2 separate regions of the Homo sapiens genome follow, and region 2 is linked to region 1. The links are contacts of gene promoters, found by promoter capture Hi-C in blood cells and fetal thymus (Javierre and others, 2016). All regions are on one chromosome and are shown on one strand. The core of a region is centred on a gene start or on the middle of the fragment in contact, and the rest is flanking DNA. Distances in the headings are between cores, read along the strand shown. Region 1 holds the start of SEMA3G (semaphorin 3G). Region 2 overlaps ALAS1 (5'-aminolevulinate synthase 1).

The links. Contacts are between HindIII fragments. The CHiCAGO score rates a contact against its expected background, and 5 or more counts as called.
Region 2: a contact is called between a fragment that was not itself captured here and the fragment with the promoter of SEMA3G in region 1, in 1 of 17 cell types (total B cells). The highest score is 5.5, in total B cells.

What each region holds. Positions count from the first base shown.
Region 1 is chr3:52,443,484-52,446,961 of GRCh38, reverse strand. SEMA3G (semaphorin 3G) reads left to right here and starts at 1,859. Exons shown (of 16, transcript NM_020163.3): 1 at 1,859-2,049. The coding sequence starts at 1,935. RefSeq lists enhancers at 1,009-1,885, 1,886-2,762. The HindIII fragment of the contact is 14,119 bases long and covers 1,441-3,478 here.
Region 2 is chr3:52,199,704-52,203,084 of GRCh38, reverse strand. ALAS1 (5'-aminolevulinate synthase 1) reads right to left here. Exons shown (of 12, transcript NM_000688.6): 4 at 351-578. Among named protein-coding and RNA genes, the nearest start is that of ALAS1, 3.2 kb to the right of the region's middle. The HindIII fragment of the contact is 1,269 bases long and covers 1,025-2,293 here.

The DNA.
Region 1 (3,478 bases), core at 610-3,109:
ACACCCTTCCCCAGTCGACCCAGGCTTCCCTGCAGCCCCTGCTGGGTGTCTGGCTGAGCTGAGACCCCAGGATGGGCTGGCAGGCTGAGGAGTGTTGGGCCTCCTGCCCGCCGCTGGTGGTCACATGCTGGCTGAAGGGCTGCCTAGCTCAGTCTCCAGTTAGAAGTTGGCCCCAGCTTGGGCAGTGTGCTGGCCACACCTCCCCAGGGAAACAGAGACAGAAGCAGTCCACTCCAAGGTCCCAGGATATGGTCACCCTGACAGCAGCCCCTGCGCAAGCCCACTCATCAGGTTATGAAGGCTGCTTACACCCAGGGTGGCTGGTCCCTGGCCCTGGGAGGAAGAGGCAGACCCAGAGATGGAAGGGCCTTGGCCAAGGCTCTCCAGCAGGGCCAGAGGCAGGGCTGGGCTGAGCTCCATCACTGGCCTCTGTGGGCAGCCCCTTGCCCACCTCCAGGCCAGCCCCCTGCTGAAGAAGGCATGTGTGAGTGAAGGGAGCTGGGGACAGGGAGGCAGAGTTGTAGGTCTCTGAGACCTGTCATGCTGACCCAAGAAGCCAACCTGTTTCCATTTCAGGATTGAGGTAGGGGAGGAGGGTGGGGTCCCCATACTCCCAACAACGCCCAGAAGCAAAGGAGGGTCCCAGGAAGGGGCAGAGCTGAGCTGGACCCATTCTCAGCCTGCTCTGTGGCCTGGGCCAGGTCCTTCCCTCTCTGAGTGCCCCGCAAGTTCCCTGACCACCATCAGAGGGCCCAGGCCGGTCCATGTGGGAGGCCCAACCTGCAGGAGCTGTTAGAATCCTGGGAACTCAAACTCCAGCTCAAAATTAAAATCTCTTTAGTGCCCAGGGCCTCAGGTTCTGAGTGTAGGGTTCTGGGGTGGGGTGAGGTGGCGACTGTTCTGGGGCAGGGAGCATGGGGAGGTCCCGTCACTCACCCCAGATTCAGGCCCTCAGTCCCATTTCCCCTTTGGCCCTCTTCTGTGGCTTTCTGTGCCCCCCGCCACCCAGTCAGTATTCAGGGTGGGGGAAGTGACCTCTAAGAGATCATAGGTGTCTGTAGGGCCTATGGGGCATGGGGTCCCTGGGAAGAACCATCACTGACCTGGGGAAGCTCTGGACCCTGAGTCTCTGGAAGGACTGGAGGCCTGAGGGAGGCAGGGCAAGGGGAGGTTCCCTCGGCATGGAGTCCCCTGATGCCCCTGTCCCCTACCCCAAAGCAAGCCTGGTGAGCTGAGATGGGGCATGTAGATGTGGGGAGAGGCTGGGGTGCCTGGAAGCCAGATGGGGACAGGCCTGGGTGGAAGAGGCTGGGCAGTCATCTCTTGCTGGCTCTATGAAGTGTTGCCGGACCTCAAACACCTGTCTAGGACATGGCGCCCCTTGGGCTGGGAATGGCCCTCCACCCTTACCCAGGGGAGCTGGAGAGTCTGGCCAAAGCTTCAGGGGGCTGGAATATCCTGGAATTGGGGCAGGGCCAGTTTGGAAGGTCTCTGCTGTGGGCAGTGGAGGGGCAGAGAACAAGGCAGAGCCCAGCTAGGCCCCTACCCAGCCCATCAACTTTAACCTCTGATCCCTGACCTCCCTTCCAGGCTCTCTCCCCACTTGTCACTTTGCTGGAGCCTGGGGACCTGCATTTGTGGACATCTCTGTACACATGGCCTGTGCCCTAGCTGGGAAGGTCTTCCCAATGGGGAGCTGGCCAGTGTGGCACAAAAGCCTGCACTGGGCCAACAAGGTGGAAGGAGAAGCGGCAGGTGGACGGCAAGGCCCCAGCCTCCTTCTCTCCTCCGCCCCTCTTCCCGCCCAGGACTGGGTGGAGCCACTGCCTTATAAGTGGTGGCCTGGTGGCAGCAGAGCAAACTACAACCGGCGGCCAGCGGGACCAGAGGGCGGCTCTGCAGGCAGGCGGCAGCGGTGCCCTCAGTTCCCCAGCATGGCCCCCTCGGCCTGGGCCATTTGCTGGCTGCTAGGGGGCCTCCTGCTCCATGGGGGTAGCTCTGGCCCCAGCCCCGGCCCCAGTGTGCCCCGCCTGCGGCTCTCCTACCGAGGTACCAGCCCCTGCGTGCCCTGTTTGTGTGCATGTGCCCTGTTTGTGTGTGTGCGCTCTGTTTGGGTGCATGTGCCGTGTTTGTGTGCATGTGCCCTGTTTGGGTGCGTGTGCCGTGTTTGTGTGCATGTGCAGTGTTTGTGTGCGTGTGCCGAGTTTGTGTGCGTGTGCCGAGTTTGCGTGTGCCGTGTTTGTGTGCGTGTGCCGAGTTTGTGTGCGTGTGCCGAGTTTGCGTGTGCCGTGTTTGTGTGCGTGTGCCCTGTTTGTGTGCGTGTGCCCTGTTTGGGTGCATGTGCCGTGTTTGTGTGCGTGTGCCCTGTTTGGGTGCGTGTGCAGTGTTTGTGTGCGTGTGCCGAGTTTGTGTGCGTGTGCCCTGTTTGGGTGCGTGTGCCGAGTTTGTGTGCGTGTGCCATGTTTGTGTGCGTGTGCCCTGTTTGGGTGCGTGTGCCCTGTTTGTGTGCGTGTGCCCTGTTTGGGTGGCTTGGGCTCTTGGGTGCCTGGTCAGCTGTAGGGGAGGGAGCCTCTCCCTGCACAGCTCTCGGGGAGTGGGAGGGAGGCAGGTCCTGGGAGACAGGACCAGGGTGGCGGTGGGAGGCACCTGAGGGGGAGTGCTGAGAAAGGGACAGATGGAGACCCTGAGAGAGCTCAATAAAGATGGGGAGGAGACAGAGGAAGGGACCAGGCAGGGGAGAGTGACAGAGAGGGTGGGGCTGAAGGGTCTGTCTGGGCTCAACTGGCACTTTTTGCCCAGGGTGGCCAACGGGAGAGCAGGCAGCATGCTATCCCTTGGTCCTGGGGCCACAGAGAAGGGGAGGACCCCCCTTGCAGCCCACTTCCCAGAGTGGGCTTGTTCATGTGCTCCTGCACCCAAGAAGCGCCCCAGCCCAGGGGGAGTTTCACCTCCCCTTTTTGCACATCCCAGCCTGGGGGTTCCTGTGTTCTACCCTAGACATGTGAGCCGGCTCAGGCCTCCACGGATGGGCCCAGGGAAGGCCCGAGACAGGCTCTTGGCAGATCCTTCCTGAGGAAACCAGAGGGGTGACCACCTTCCCCTGGGAAGCCCAGTCTGCTGGGGGAGATGGCGCTCGTCCCTGGAGAGGCTGAGGGGAATGTGGTCTTGTTCCGGGAGCTGTGGTTTTGCGGGGAGGTCAGACTGCTAGAAAAAGCCCCAAATAGGGAAAGTTCCCCAAGGTACTGTCATCCATGGAGGGCTTCCCGGAAGAGACCGTTGATGAGTTTTGGGGGTGGAATGGGTGTTGGGTAGAGGTGCTTCCGTAGGGAAGGCATAGGACACTCTGGGCCTTCCCAAAGGTGGCCAGCACCCTCTTCCTGCCACATCCTACTGCCCCCATTACCTCCACCTCCCTAGCCAAGCCCGGAGGACCTACCTCAGGATCCTCAACTCCTGGGACCGATGTCCCCAGACAGCT
Region 2 (3,381 bases), core at 410-2,909, 240 kb after region 1:
AGCACTTACTGCAGTAAAACCATTATTTTCTATCTTTATCCTAGCAGATGATGGGAAAGACCAAAGGGACAAAAGGCAGCTGGTGGCAGCTCAAGACTGCAGGTTATTTTCAGAAATTAAGTAGTAACTATAAAAGCTGGTCACATCCCACACACGCACCAGAAAGAAAGTCCCACTTTCGCAATACAGTCCCTTGACTGTCTATCTTGAAGACCTTCCTCTCTGGCCCTAAAAGAGGAAGGTGTTTCCATAAATACTGCCCTAATAATAGCTCATACACAAATCTGAGGGCCCAAAAGAACTAAAAGGACCCCTTCACTACCACTAATGGTTCACAACTCATCTCTTACCTTTCCTCACGGCATTCATTTCCTGCACATCCTCCTGAAGCTCAAGACTGGCTTTGCAGAAGACACTGCTGCCTCTCTGATTCATCTGTGCTGCCAGGAAAGGGCATTTGCTTGCAGTGCCCTGGCTTGTGGCAGGCAAGGGGTGTCCAGACGGAAGCTGTGTGCCATCTGGACTCTGCTGGGATCCATCAGGAGTCTGTTGGACCTTGGCCTTAGCAGTTTTGTCTTCTGAGGGAGGAAATGGAAAAAGTGAAGCATCAGATCTGGTTGCACAGTATGTAAGAAAACCACTTATTTCTTTCTTTTATTGCCTCAAAGATAAACTTAATACTTACTGTACCCCACCATCCAGACACAAGTGTTTTTTTTGTTTTGTTTTGTTTTTAAGATGGAGTCTTGCTCTGTACCCCAGGTTGGAGTACAGTGGCACAATCTTGGCTCACTACAACCTCCACCTCCTGGGTTCAAGTGATTCTCATGCCTCAGCCTCCCAAGTAGCTGGGGTTACAGGTGTGTGCCACCATGCCTGGCTAATTTGTGTATTTTTAGTAGAGATGGGGTTTCACCATGTTGTCCAGGCTGGTCTTGAACTCCTGACCTCAGGTTATCCACCTGCCTTGGCCTCCCAAAGTGCTGGGATTATAGGCGTGAACCACTGCACTCAGCCACAAGCTTATTTTTATTAGGTTCTGCTAATCTCTCTAGTTTTTCATCTGCTTCACAGGAAACAATGCGTCTATGAAGAGTTAACTGGCACATTCCAGTTGCCTCTTAAACCCACAGTATTTCTCGTCATAAATCCAAAAAAAGTACCATTTTCTAGTTTTAGACAACCCGGAATCCTTGAGTTGGATCATTTCCAGTAATTTCTACCCCAACTACACTCAGCTTATTTTATGAGAGGACACACTCTGTAAGGTAACGGGAAATATTCACACACATTTTTTTCTCTGCTAACATTTTCCTTTCCTTTTTTTTTGAAACAGGATCTCACTCTGTCAACCAGGCTAGAGTGCATGGTGCAATCATAGCTAACTGCAGCTTTGACCTCCAGGCTCAAGTGATCCTCTCACCTTAGCTCTCCAAGTAGCTTGGACTGCAGGTGTTCTACTGCGCCCAGCTAATTCTTTTTATTTTTTATTTTTTGTAGAGACGGAGTCTTGTTATGTGGCCCTAGCTTCTATCAAACTCCTAGGCTCAAGCAGTCCTCCCGCCTCAGCCTCCCAAAGTGCTGGAATTACAGGCATGAGCCACCACATCCTGTCTCTGCTGACATTTTCTAAACAGATTCTTGACAAAGAGGCTTGCTGTTGCTTAACATAAAAGCTATTGGTTTTCATCTAAACAACAGAAATTAGACTAAGACTTAGGTCTTTAGATTGCTAATAAAGTAAGAAAAAATAGGGGTATATCACATTCACATACCTCATCTACTTTCTCATCTAAATTCATCAAAGTCTGCTGACTAAACACCGTTGGCTGGTAATTATCCTTCTAGCTACAGTGACTTCCCTCTCCCCTTGAGCAAATTCATTCACCTTCTTTCTAGAAAAGTCTTTCTTCATCATTCTGGAACACTCCTGTGAGTCACTGGCTAGCCTTTCCTATAACTTGGGTAAAGTGTCTCAATACAGTTTTCATTAAAATCTTCTATAACGGAAGGCCAAAAAAATTATTTTGAAGTTAATTTCATTTATTATAAAAGTAATACATATTCATTAAAGTCTAGAAAAAGAAAAAAATCCTATCATTTAAAACATAGCCATTGCAAGCATTTTGGTAAAAAAGACGTAACTAACTCTTGAAAATAAACCCTACAAAGGATTAAATCCTTTCTGCTTAAAGAAAAAAAAAACTTATTTTCTTACAAGCCCACACCCAGAGAACACGCCTAAGAAAAACCTGTAAAATATTCTCTGGGATTAAGTGGAACCTGAAAAGCTTTGTTCTCTCCTATCAGAAGCAGAGCAAACTAAATTCAACTCTAGTCTCTTTGTTAAAAACAACAACAACAAATGTATATACAAATAAAGATACATGGCATGATCTCAGCTCACTGCAACCTCTACCTCCCGGGTTCAAGCAATTCTCATGCCTCAGCCTCCCAAATAGCTGGGATTACAGGCGTACACCACCACATCCAGCTAATTTTGTATTTTTTGTAACAGTGGGGTTTCACCATGTGGCCAGGCTGGTCTCGAACTCCTGGCCTCAGGTGATCAAACCACCTCGGCCTCCCAAAGCGCTGGGATTACAGGAGTGAGCCACTGCACACAGCCAAGATAAATTTGTTTTTAAAAATCACTAATAAATACTGTACAATTTCACTTATATGAGGTACCTAGAATAGTCAAATTCATAGAGACAGAAAGCAGAATGGTGGTTGTCAGGGGTTGGGGAGAGAGGAATGGAGAGTTACTGTTTGATGGGTATAGAATTTCAGTTTGGGAAGATGAAAAAAGTTCTGGAGATGGATGGTGGTGGTGACACAACAATATGAATGTACCACTGAACTGCACATTTTTAAGTGCTTAAAATGGTAATTTTTCTTGGGCATTTTACCACAACAGAACAAAAACTTTTAAGAAAAAAAAAATCACTACTTTAAAAAGCCAAAGGGGCCGGGCACGGTGGCTCACGCCTGCAATCCCAGCACTCTGGGAGGCTGAGGCAGGTGGATCATTTGAGGTCAGGAGTTTGAGACCAGCCGGACCAACAAGGTGAAACCCTACTAAAAGTACAAAAATTATCTGGGCGTGGTGGTGCATGCCTGTAATTCCAGATACTTGGAAGGCTGAGGCAGGAGAATCACTTGAACCTGGGAGGTGGAGGTTGCAGTAAGCCGAGACTGCATCACTGCACTCCAACCTGGGCGACAGAGCAAGACTCAGTCTCAAAAAAGAAAAATTAAATAAATAAAAAGCCGAAGGCCAAATGTTTAATGAGGGAAATTAGAAGGCTAAATGTTTAATGAGGGAAATTAGAACATTCCAATTTAATATTTATGTGAACGAGGCACTGAGGAAACACT